Regions from separate parts of the Homo sapiens genome. Here all the other regions are linked to region 1. Evidence: promoter capture Hi-C in human tissues and cell types (Jung and others, 2019). All regions are on one chromosome and are shown on one strand. The core of a region is centred on a gene start or on the middle of the fragment in contact, and the rest is flanking DNA. Distances in the headings are between cores, read along the strand shown. Region 1 holds the start of IL31RA (interleukin 31 receptor A). Region 2 overlaps SLC38A9 (solute carrier family 38 member 9). Region 3 overlaps IL6ST-DT (IL6ST divergent transcript). Region 4 has its middle 48 kb from the start of IL6ST-DT.

Region 1 (2,745 bases), core at 166-2,665:
GCAGTTTCAAGAACGTTGTTTTACCTTTCTTTCTGATGGATCATTTGGATGGGTAGAGCATCCTAGGTGAGAAATAATTTTCCAATAGAGTTATAAAGGAATTGATCCATTGCTTTCTAACTTCTGGTTTTGTTATTAAGTCTAAAGCCATTCTCATCCTTGATCCTTTGTATGTGACTTATTTTTTTCCTATCTGGAAACATTTTTTTTCTGTTTATTCTTGATATTCTGAAACTTCACTGTTTTGTACTTCAGTGTAGATTTATTTTCATTTATTATGCTGTTTACAGTGGGCCCTTTCAATCTGGAAACAAATGTTCCTCAATTCTTGGGAATTTTATTGTATCACTTCTCTCATTATTTCTTTCCCTCCATTCCTCTGTTCTGTGCTTCTGTACTGCTGGTAGTCAGATGTTGGCTATTCTTCATCTCTTTGTCTTTTCTTCTATCTTCTGGAAGATTTCCTCAACTTTATTTTCTAGTCTTTAGACTTCAGCTCTCATATTTTGAATCTCCAAGAGTTCTTGTTCTCTAATTATGCCTTTATCATAGCATCCTATTCATATTTTGTGGGTACAACATTTTTTCTTATTTTCTATGAAGGTTTAACTAATATTTCTTTTAAAAAATATTCTGCTTTCTGCATTGCCTTTCTTTCAAGTTTTTTCCCCCCATCTGCTGTTGGGATGGGAGAAATTTAATGAATTTGGCTTTGTGGGGTTAGGATTAGGTAGTCTATTTCTTTTTCAGATTTTCAACCAATCTTATGATTTTTGTTTCAGAGGTATAGTCAATTCTCATTATTCCTTCATTATTCCTGGCAATTATGTTCAATAAAATCGCCACAAACACTGAATTAGAAAATACTGCTGAGCGTGGTGGCTCATGCCTGTAATCCCAGCACTTTGGGAGGCCGAGGCAGGTGGATCACCTGAGGTCAGGAGTTTGAGACCAGCCTGAACAACATGGAGAAACCCCGTCTCTACTAAAAATACAAAATCAGCTGGGCTTGGTGGCGCATGCCTGTAATCCCAGCTACATGGGAGGCTGGCCTGAGGCAGGAGAATCACTTCAACCCGGGAGGTGGAGGTTGCGGTGAGCTGAGATGGCGCAATTGCACTCCAGCCTAAGCAACAAGAGCGAAACTCTGTCTCAGAAGAAAAAAAAAAAGAAAAAAAGAAAATACTGAATTATTCTCTGTGGGGGAAATATAGAGTTAGGTGCCTGTGAGCCTCTGGTCACAACATTTTTGTCAGCTAATCAATACATAACCTTGTTTTGTGTGTGTTTCTGTTTAAAGACACCTTATTTAATATACATTGTTGATTCATCAACATTGAACTCATGGCTAATAACAGTACTATGACTCATGCCTGAATAGAGCTTATTTAACACACATATTTTCTCCATGAGGCACAGCCTCCTTCTGCTTAGGAACACCAGACAGCACTCCAGCACTCTGCTTGGGGGGCATTCGAAACAGCAAAATCACTCATAAAAGGCAAAAAATTGCAAAAAAAAATAGTAATAACCAGCATGGCACTAAATAGACCATGAAAAGACATGTGTGTGCAGTATGAAAATTGAGACAGGAAGGCAGAGTGTCAGCTTGTTCCACCTCAGCTGGGAATGTGCATCAGGCAACTCAAGTTTTTCACCACGGCATGTGTCTGTGAATGTCCGCAAAACATTGTGAGTATTGATTTGGGGGGTTACAAATAATTCCTAGCAAGTAGGTGAATTCACAAATAAGGAAGCTGTGAGTAATGAGGGTTGATTTTACCTACCTAGTGTCTCAAATCCTGAGCCGTATGAGATTCCGTGGCATAATTATGTTTGCTTATTGTTGGCAACCTTATTAGGCATTTCTAGGTTTCTGCTTTCTCATCTTTACCAGTTCAGTTATGGCTTGATTCATTTCTCTTTTTCCAAAGATTTGTTGACATCTCTTATTTGCTGTTGCCTCTTCCCATTTGTTTTGTCTTGTGGTTCTATATCTTTGCCATAATTTTTGTGGAGTTTCCTGAGAGAGTAGAGATAAATGTATATGCTCAATTGGTCTTGTCTTAACCAGAATTCTATTTAATACACAACACCTTTAGTGAGCTGTTATGCATGTAATAGGTGTTTACTAAGTATTGGTTGAATAAATTCAAGAAATGCTTGCTATTTTTGTGCTAGCATTTAGCTTTTCTCTATAGTATATTATAATGGAATTTTATTTTATTTTATTTTATTTATTTTTTGAGACAGAGTTTCACTCTTGTCGCCAGGTTGGAGTACAATGGCACGATCTTGGCTCACTGCAACCTCTGCCTCCCGGGTTCAAGCGATTCTCCTGCCTCAGCCTCCCGAGTAGCTGGGATTACAGGTGCCTGCCACCATGCCTGACTAATTTTTTTGTATTTTTAGTAGAGATGGGGTTTTGCCATGTTGGTCAGGCTGGTCTCAAACTCCTGACATCAGGTGATCCACCTGCCTCAGCCTCCCAAAGTGCTGGGATTACAGGCGTGAGCCACCACGCCTGGCTGGAATTTTAAATATCTCATAATTATAATCTTCTAGGTAAAAGACTAGCTCTCTTTCTCACCCTTATTCCTCCTACTTAGTGGAACATTGCCTAAGGAAGATGGGGAATGGGTTAAAAATTAAAATGTGGGGCTGGAAAGCATAGCTTGTTTTAAAACTTAGTTTTCTTTCCTTTTGCATCATAATCTCTTCCCCGGTCTATTTATTTCTCGTGGT
Region 2 (2,700 bases), core at 138-2,637, 140 kb before region 1:
CATGCCTAGTCTTAAAGCTTTTTTGAATGTCTTGATGAGAAGTATAAAATATCCCGAAGTTTGATGACTTAGGTTGAGAGGTGAATTAGAGTTCCACAGCAAATATTACATAGGTGATAATGCAGAATAGTTTATCAATGATTAACAAAAATGCTAAATACTTCTATAGTATTAATTTGTCAGACATTACATTGATATAATTTGGTAGGGGCTAAATATACAAGATGACATAAACAGACATATTCCAGCCTGGCCAACATAGTGAAACCCTGTCTCTACTAAAAGTACAAAAATTAGCCAGCAGTGGTGGCACACACGTGTAGTCCCAGCTACCCGGGAGGCTGAGGCAGGAGAATTGCTTGAACCCAGGAGGCAGAGGTTGCAGAGCAAGACTCTGTCTCAAAACAAAACCCAGACATAATCACTTTTAACATCTCACTCAATCTCTGAGTTTTAAAACAAAGTCCCAGATGCAAGACCACTAAGTCAAATCTAAGTCATTAAATGAGTCTCTAATTGTTTAAGATTGGTTTTAATAAGGAGTCCAGCTATGATTTGAATGTTTGTGTCCCGTCCAAAATTCATATGTTGAAACTTAATTGCCAATGTTATAGTATTAACAGGTAGACCCTTTTGGAGGTAATTATGTCAGGAAGGCAGAACCCTTATGAATGGAGTTAGTAACCTTATGAAAAGTTTGAAGGGAACTAGCTAGATCCCTTTTGTCTTTCCATCCCTTCCCCCATGTGAGGACACAGCACCAAGGCACCATCTTGGAAGCAGAGACCGGGTCCTCACCAAACATCAAATCTGCAGGTGGCTTGATCTTGGACTTCCCAGCCTCCACAACTGCTAGAAATTAATTTCTATTGTTTATAAATTACCTAGCCTCAAGTATTTCATTAGAGCAGCACCAAGAGACTGAGATAGGTCCCAGTAGGGAATGAACAGCTTAGTTGACTTGCTTGGTACTTTCGACTTTTATTTAAAATGTTGGTGACTGAGCCAGGCATGGTGGCTCATGCCTGTAATCTCAGCTACTCGGGAGGCTGAGGTGAGAGAACTGCTTGAGCCCAGGAGTTCGAGATTGCAGCGAGCTACAATGGCACCACTGCATTCCAGCCCAGGTGACAGAGTGAGACTGTCTCTAAAAGAACAAAAAATGTTAGTGCCTGTACTGAAGCACTTCTCTCCGTAAAAAGGACATAGAGAGCAATCAAAGTAAACTGGTATGACATTATTTTAAAAAGGTATTGACTGTGATTATTGGCGTATCTCAAAGAATATCAGCCCTTTCCATACTAGGCTCAGAAATGTCTTTTCACAATTCTTTGCAAAAATAAATCTATAGAATCTATGCCAAGATGCTAGCATCAATCTGCAATAGAATACACTAGCTTGTGCCCAAATAAATGTGACTATGGACCCACATACAACTATTATATATGTTCTTTCTCAGAGACTAAAAATGAATATTACTGAATACTTTTGTGTATGTTATAGAGTTTCAGATACTACATTTATACTCAGTGTCCTAGGCTAGAGGTTGACATATTTTTTTCTGTAAAGGGTCAGATAATAAATATTTCAGGCTTTTTGAGCCATATAGTTTCTGCAGCTACTCAATTCTACCTGTTAGCATGAAAGGCAATTGAGTGTGCATGGCTGTGTTCCAATAGAACTTTATGAAAAAAATATATCTGTCAGCAGGCCAAATTTGGTCATAGTTTACTCACCTCTGTAGTATGCCAACATAAAAGCAAATGGAACCACACCACAAAAAAGTCACCCTGGTGGAAGCAGTTATGCTATGTATATATATTTTCTTCTGTATTAGTCTGTAACAGCTATAAACTCCAATAACAAACTTATCTAAATCTCTTCCTGATGAATCATTTACTGGTTAGCCAATAGGATCTATAATGCTCCTATTCTGATGTGACAGTTGGAACATGCTTCCAACCTGATCAATAAATGCTTCAAAAGGCGTTAAATTTGACAGTGCTGGAGGATAGTGTGGTCTCACAAAAAAATTACCAAAGCAACGCTGTGGTACCAAAGAATCTCTCCTTCTACAATGGGAACACTAAATGCTCTCAAGTTATATTTCAGTGGTAAGAAAGAAAAAAACCCTAGCAAACGACAGAAATTTAAGTATGTTACAAAATGCAGGCCTGGTAGACATTTTTAACCTCTAAGTGATTTTTTTTTTTTAACTTTTAAGCCCATATATACTTTTTAAAAAATACCATATAGGTCCAGTGTGGTGGCTCATGCCTGTAATCCCAATGCTTTGGGAGGCTGAAGCAAGAGGATTGCTTGAACCTAGGAGTTCAAGGTAACAGTTAGCTATGACAGTGCCACTGCACTAAAGCTTGAGTATCAGAGCAAAACTCTGCCCCTAACCCCAAAAAGAAAAAAAAAATACTAAACAATACTATTTCAATTTGTAGTTCAGGTTGGTATTCCATCCTCCTATGCTGAGTTTACCCTTTATTGTAAGTATTTAGAGTATTATAAAATCACAATTAAAAGCATATTATTTTATGTATGTAACTGAAATATATAGTATTTAAGATTGTGATTAGAAATCTAAGGCTAACTGGCTGGGCGTGTGTGGCACACGCCTGTAATCCCAGCACTTTGGGAGGCCGAGGCAGGCAGATCAAGAGGTCAGGAGATCAAGACCATCCTGGCCAA
Region 3 (2,700 bases), core at 44-2,543, 150 kb after region 1:
TTTGAGAGGGAAGCTTGGCTTCAGAGAAGGAAAGGCCAGTGCAAGACATGTGAGCAGCAGTTAGGTGCATCCTATTCCTAGACACATACATAGGATAAGGAAGTCAGGTATTGGGACTGTAGCTTTGGAATGGACTATACTTGCTTCAGAATATTATCAGGGGGAGTTTGAGAAGCAAGGGCTTTCCTTCGTTGATTCTCCTTTCACCAGTCTTCCTGGAAAGAATATTCTGCAGTTACAAAATAGGTTCCTTGGCTGCCAGTCTGATACTTGTGCTAAAACCAAATAGATGAAAAAGTATCAACATGAATTTTAAAAAATATATTGTGTGAGCTTGTATAGCTAAGAATTCCCAGCCCCCTACATAGGATCTGAAGAAAGATCTAGTACTAATTGTATTAAATAATGGTTTAGGCAAATGTGTATCTGTCTCCTTAAGAGAGGAAGGCAGTCCCTACTGTAAAGTAAAAATGAAATGGATATACTTCCTGAGAGGGCTGGAATTTTCTGATAATTGTCCCCTCTGATTTTTCACAGGATTTACGGAATGGCCATCTTCCATAATTAACAAATAAATAAATGAAATTTAATGTCAGGGTCAAATGAAACTGGAAACAAAGCTTATCTGGTGATATATCAAATTATGAGAGTCATTATTTGGATGTAAGGATATATGACAGATAGACTCTTAGGAGAAATGCTATGACCTCCTGCTTCTTGGTATTCCTTGTGTGATTTCCTCCTCTTGAGTGTGAAGGCATGTATGTCATTGAGTTATATAAGATAGTGCCCATCTTGCTAGTGTCTCTCTCTCTCTTGTGGCTCTGAAAAATCAAGCTGCCTGCCATGTTTGAGCTTTGATATGGAAAGACCCACATGTTAAGGAACTGAGGGCAGACTCTGCCAACAGCTAGCTTTGAAACTGAATCTCCCGGCCAGGCACAGTGGCTCATGCCTTTAATCCCAGCACTTTGGGAGGCCAAGGTGGGTGGATCACAAGGTCAGGAGTTCAAGACCAGCCTGGCCAAGATGGTGAAACCCCATCTCTACTAAAAATACAAAAATTAGCTGGGTGTGGTGGCAGGCACCTGTAATCCCAGCTACCCAGGAGGCTGAGGGAGAGAATTTCTTGAACCCAGGAGGCAGAGGTTGCAGTGAGCTGAGATCACGCCACTGCACTCCAGCCTGGGTGGCAGAGCGAGACTCCATCTCAAAAAAAAAAAAAAAAGAGAGAAAGAAACCAAATCTCTCAGTCCTACAACCTCAAGGAACTGAATTTTGCCAACAAAAGCAGATCCTTCCCCAGTCAAGCCTCAGATGAGACAGCATCCTCAGCTAACAACTTGTTTGCAGCCTCATGAGAACTGAAGCAGAGAACCCAGCTAAACTGTGCCTAGACTCCTGACCACAGAAACTGAGATAATAAATGTGTGTTGTTTTAAGCTGCCAAGTATGTGATAATTTGTTATGTAGTGGAGAACTAATACAACAGGGAAAAGTTAAAAGCTATTCACATAAATATTTATAATGGATACTATTTCTACACATTTAAATCAAGCTTCTCTTACGTTCATAAGAAGATACGAATCTGGAGAAGGAAATTATATCAAGCAGAACGCTGCTCTGGTGTTGTGAAGACGGGATCCCACCATTCTAATGTATTCAATTTATTTATTCAATAAGTTTTGAGCATCAACTATGTTCCAGGCACTGAGATATTAATCTAAGGAAGACACACGTGTTGTCCTCATTGAGGAGCTCAAAAGTCTAATACATAAACCAACAATCATACAAAAATCATAGCCATGTTACAGTGCTATGAGGAAGATGTTAAGAGAATATTCTGGAAGTACTCATACATAAATACTTCAGAAACTGGGCATTATAAGAAGTCAGTTGCCTCTCTCTACTTTCAGTTCTACATTTTTATACCTTGTAGTGGATTTAAAATGGCCACAAATTCTTCAATACTCTTCTATGGAGAGATTTGAGGGCTATTTCCCTTCATCTTGAATTTAGGCAGGCTTGTTCAGGGTCTGGCTTTTAAGAGGAGCTTTCACCTTGGTCTGTGGAAGTCCTGAGTCACTGTGTACAAAGTCCATCTACCTTATTACACCATCTGGAGAGAGCTGAGACTACAGGGAGAGGGGGAGTGGCCCGGCTGATCCCAGTCTTCCTAGTGACCCTGCCCAGGAACTTGGCATGTGAGTAAAGCCATCTTGGAACCTCCATACCAGACCAGCCACGAGATGAATAATACTAACTGATCCCAGTCAATGCCACATAGAGCAGAAGAACTGCCTAACTGAATTCTTTCCAAACTGCTGACTCAAAAATTTGTATGGTATAATAAAATGTTTGTTTTAAGTCACTGTTTTGTTAGGAGTAATAAGCAACCAGAATAAAATTCTAATCTTTATCATGTACCGTGCTGAAAATCTGACCATCTCACTCTCCTTAAAACTCCGTCAATCCCTTCCCATTACCCAAATCCCTCTTGTATGTCATAGAAGTCCCTCATTACGTGACCTCTACCTACTTCTCTGGTCTTGTCTCCTAACATGGCCTCCAACTCCAGGCTCTCATATTACCTATTTGCTAATGGTTCCTGGGCCAGCATCCAACATACTGTTCCCTCCTTCCATGCCAAGAAGAGACAGCTTATTCTGTTTCCTTGGCCGGTCATTGCCTTCTTCATTT
Region 4 (2,724 bases), core at 106-2,605, 190 kb after region 1:
GGCCGAGGCAGGCGGATCATGAGGTCAGGAGTTCGAGACCAGCCTGGCCAATGTGCTGAAACCCTGTCTCTACTAAAAATACAAAAATTATCTGGGCGTGGTGGCTGGCACCTGTAATCCCAGCTACTTGGGAGGCTGAGGCAGGAGAATCCCTTGAACCTGGGAGGCAGAGGTTGCAGTAAGCCAAGATTGCGCCACTGCACTCCAGCCTGGGTGACAGAGCAAGACTCCATCTCAAAAAAAAAAATTAAATTAAATTTAAAAAGATTAATTCATATAAATTTAAAGCACCATGTGGCTAGTGGCTACTGTATTGCAGAGTGCAGCTATTGATAGCAAACGACACTTGTACATTCTACCAATGGTAAAATTCAAGTCTTTACTTCTGTTCAGTCTCTCTGTGAGCTCCACTAACTCAGTAAGTTATCTCAAGCCTGCTTTATTTTAAGGCAATGGATTCTAGATCCAGGAAAAAAAGTTCCATTTCCCTATCTTGTGTCCAAGGCAGACATAGCTAATTGACCATGGCATTTTTATTTTCTCTGAGTTTAGAAGTAGCTTTGTCATCTTTCTCACAGTGAGGATCTGGAAAGCCACTACTCGTTGAGAGGGGGTAACAATAAACTCATATTTATTGAGGGCTAACTGCGTGCCAAGTACTTTAAGTTACATTAGAAGTAAATCCCAGTCCCTCCAACCACACAGATCTGCATTGTCTTCTTTGTGTTGGGAACCAAGATACTCTTCCAACTGGGTTGGATGTCAACCTGCTCAGCCACCTCCATGGGACAGACCAATCAATCATTCAAAGGACAAAGGAATTTATTTCTCCCCTCACAATATTTGACAAAACTTAAAACACTGATCTTTCCATCTTCATTCCACTACAATAATTATATGTTCATAATGGAGACTGGACATGGGGAAAGCAAAGTAAAAGAACATTTACTACGTGTCGATGTCAGCGCTGTGCAGGATGCTTTAGACATTTTTGTCATTTAGCAGCTATAGGAACCACATGGACAGGATATATAAAGCATCTTTAGTTTGTCCTTTTCTGCTGTGCCTCACAAGAAGTGAGTAATTAATTTTGTCAGAGGGTGTTTAATTCAGTTTACTTATTAATTCATTTACTAAGTCAATGATATTAATTAAGTGTCCAGTAAGTGCAAAAAACAATGCTAGGTTCTGGGAAGCCACATAGACATCAAGGTCCTGGCCTCAAGACATTCAGCTTTGTGGACTATAAACGGAGTATAATGAGCCATGGCGATACAGGGAAGAGAGAGTTTGAGGAGACAAGGAAGGCTGCAAAGAGAAGGTGGCCTTTGAACTAAGTGTTGATGAATAAAAAGAATTCACCAGGTAAGAAAGGAGATTCTGGACTGAGGTAAAATTATGTGTGATAGCATAAGCACAACAAATCCATATGGAATATTTCAGAAATGGCAAGTGTTTTAGTGTAATTTACCAACACCAGAAATTCTGCTCTTGGAGTGACGTGTATCTACTTATAATGGTACATTGTAAATTACTTTGCCATTGCATGATGAACTCAAAGCGTACGTAAGTTAAGCTGTCAAGAAAATATCAGCATATTATATTATTGAAGTAAAATCAGAGGGAAAGTGATCTACTGCTAACTAGCTATCTGACTTCGGGCAAGTAAGCTTGGTTACTTTAGGTTTTAGTTGCCTTATTTATAAAATGAAGAGGTTGATGTAGAATGTATTATTTATCCTCTACACTATTCTAAGAAGCAACAATAATACCAAGGGCTTATTCTCAGAATGAAGGAAAGAAGAAAATCAACAGGTACTTACTGAATCTGCCCCTAGTAAGTTGACAAAGGAAAGGAGATAAGTATATATTCATTGTCAATTTGCACAAAACAATTAAAAACTGCTAAGAAAATATTAAGGTGTTAGTTTGAACTTCTGAATTCTTTATTTTTTTTTTTTTTTTGAGATGGAGTCTCGCTCTGTTGCCCAGGCTAGAGTGCAGTGGCGCGATCTCTGCTCACTGCAAGCCCCGCCTCCCGGGTTCACGGCATTCTCATGCCTCAGCCTCCCGAGTAGCTGGGACTACAGGTGCCCGCCACCACGCCCGGCTAATTGAACTTCTGAATTCTAATGGCTGGGAGAGGGTGGGACATGGTAGGGAAAAGTGCAGATATGAATCTAAGAGGCTCGTTTTGAGGAAGGACTGCCAGATTTCTACAAAGCAATCAGAAAAAGGATACTACTATGCTCTTTCAATATCTTGTTCTTAAAAAACAAAAGTGATCATTCCTGGAACTCTGATAAGAAAGATTCCAGTAGGCTGTTTATTTACTTAACATTGCCATTGCCTGGACTGAAGAGAGATAATCACTTTTAGTTTCAAACTCGATCTAGTCTATAACACATGGAAAGGGATTTCATGTGTTTTCTAGGAAGAAACAGATGTTACCCATAAAAAACAAAGCAAAAAAACCCAAAAAATCTATATTGCTATTGCAAAATCTGAGTGTGAGAACTCATGTCATATTCATACACGATAAATGCCATATGTTATTTGTATAAAGAAAGGTAATAATGCATTTTCAAATAATTAGTTAAAATAATTTTGGTTGGTCAAAACTGTATTAGAAGATGAATTCTCTGAGGCCAACTGGTGACTGTCTGAGGCTCCCACATTTACAGATTTTATGTTATTTCAACAAATATCCATGGAGTGTGGGAG

The links. Contacts are between HindIII fragments. The study calls those that stand out against the background at their distance.
Region 2: a fragment that was not itself captured here is called in contact with the fragment with the promoter of IL31RA in region 1 in 1 of the 25 tissues and cell types used here (mesenchymal stem cells).
Region 3: a fragment that was not itself captured here is called in contact with the fragment with the promoter of IL31RA in region 1 in 1 of the 25 tissues and cell types used here (bladder).
Region 4: a contact is called between a fragment that was not itself captured here and the fragment with the promoter of IL31RA in region 1, in 1 of the 25 tissues and cell types used here (aorta).

What each region holds. Positions count from the first base shown.
Region 1 is chr5:55,849,942-55,852,686 of GRCh38, forward strand. It overlaps IL31RA (interleukin 31 receptor A), which reads left to right and starts at 1,416. Exons shown (of 15, transcript NM_139017.7): 1 at 1,416-1,692. The coding sequence starts at 1,630. The HindIII fragment of the contact is 16,782 bases long and covers 1-2,745 here.
Region 2 is chr5:55,707,180-55,709,879 of GRCh38, forward strand. All of the region lies in intron 2 of SLC38A9 (solute carrier family 38 member 9), which reads right to left. Among named protein-coding and RNA genes, the nearest start is that of SLC38A9, 3.8 kb to the right of the region's middle. The HindIII fragment of the contact is 5,694 bases long and covers 1-2,700 here.
Region 3 is chr5:56,001,212-56,003,911 of GRCh38, forward strand. It overlaps IL6ST-DT (IL6ST divergent transcript), which reads left to right. Exons shown (of 2, transcript NR_102755.1): 2 at 538-2,438. Among named protein-coding and RNA genes, the nearest start is that of IL6ST-DT, 7.4 kb to the left of the region's middle. RefSeq lists an enhancer at 1,950-2,244. The HindIII fragment of the contact is 6,106 bases long and covers 1-2,700 here.
Region 4 is chr5:56,041,540-56,044,263 of GRCh38, forward strand. No RefSeq gene overlaps it. Among named protein-coding and RNA genes, the nearest start is that of IL6ST-DT, 48 kb to the left of the region's middle. The HindIII fragment of the contact is 6,264 bases long and covers 1-2,724 here.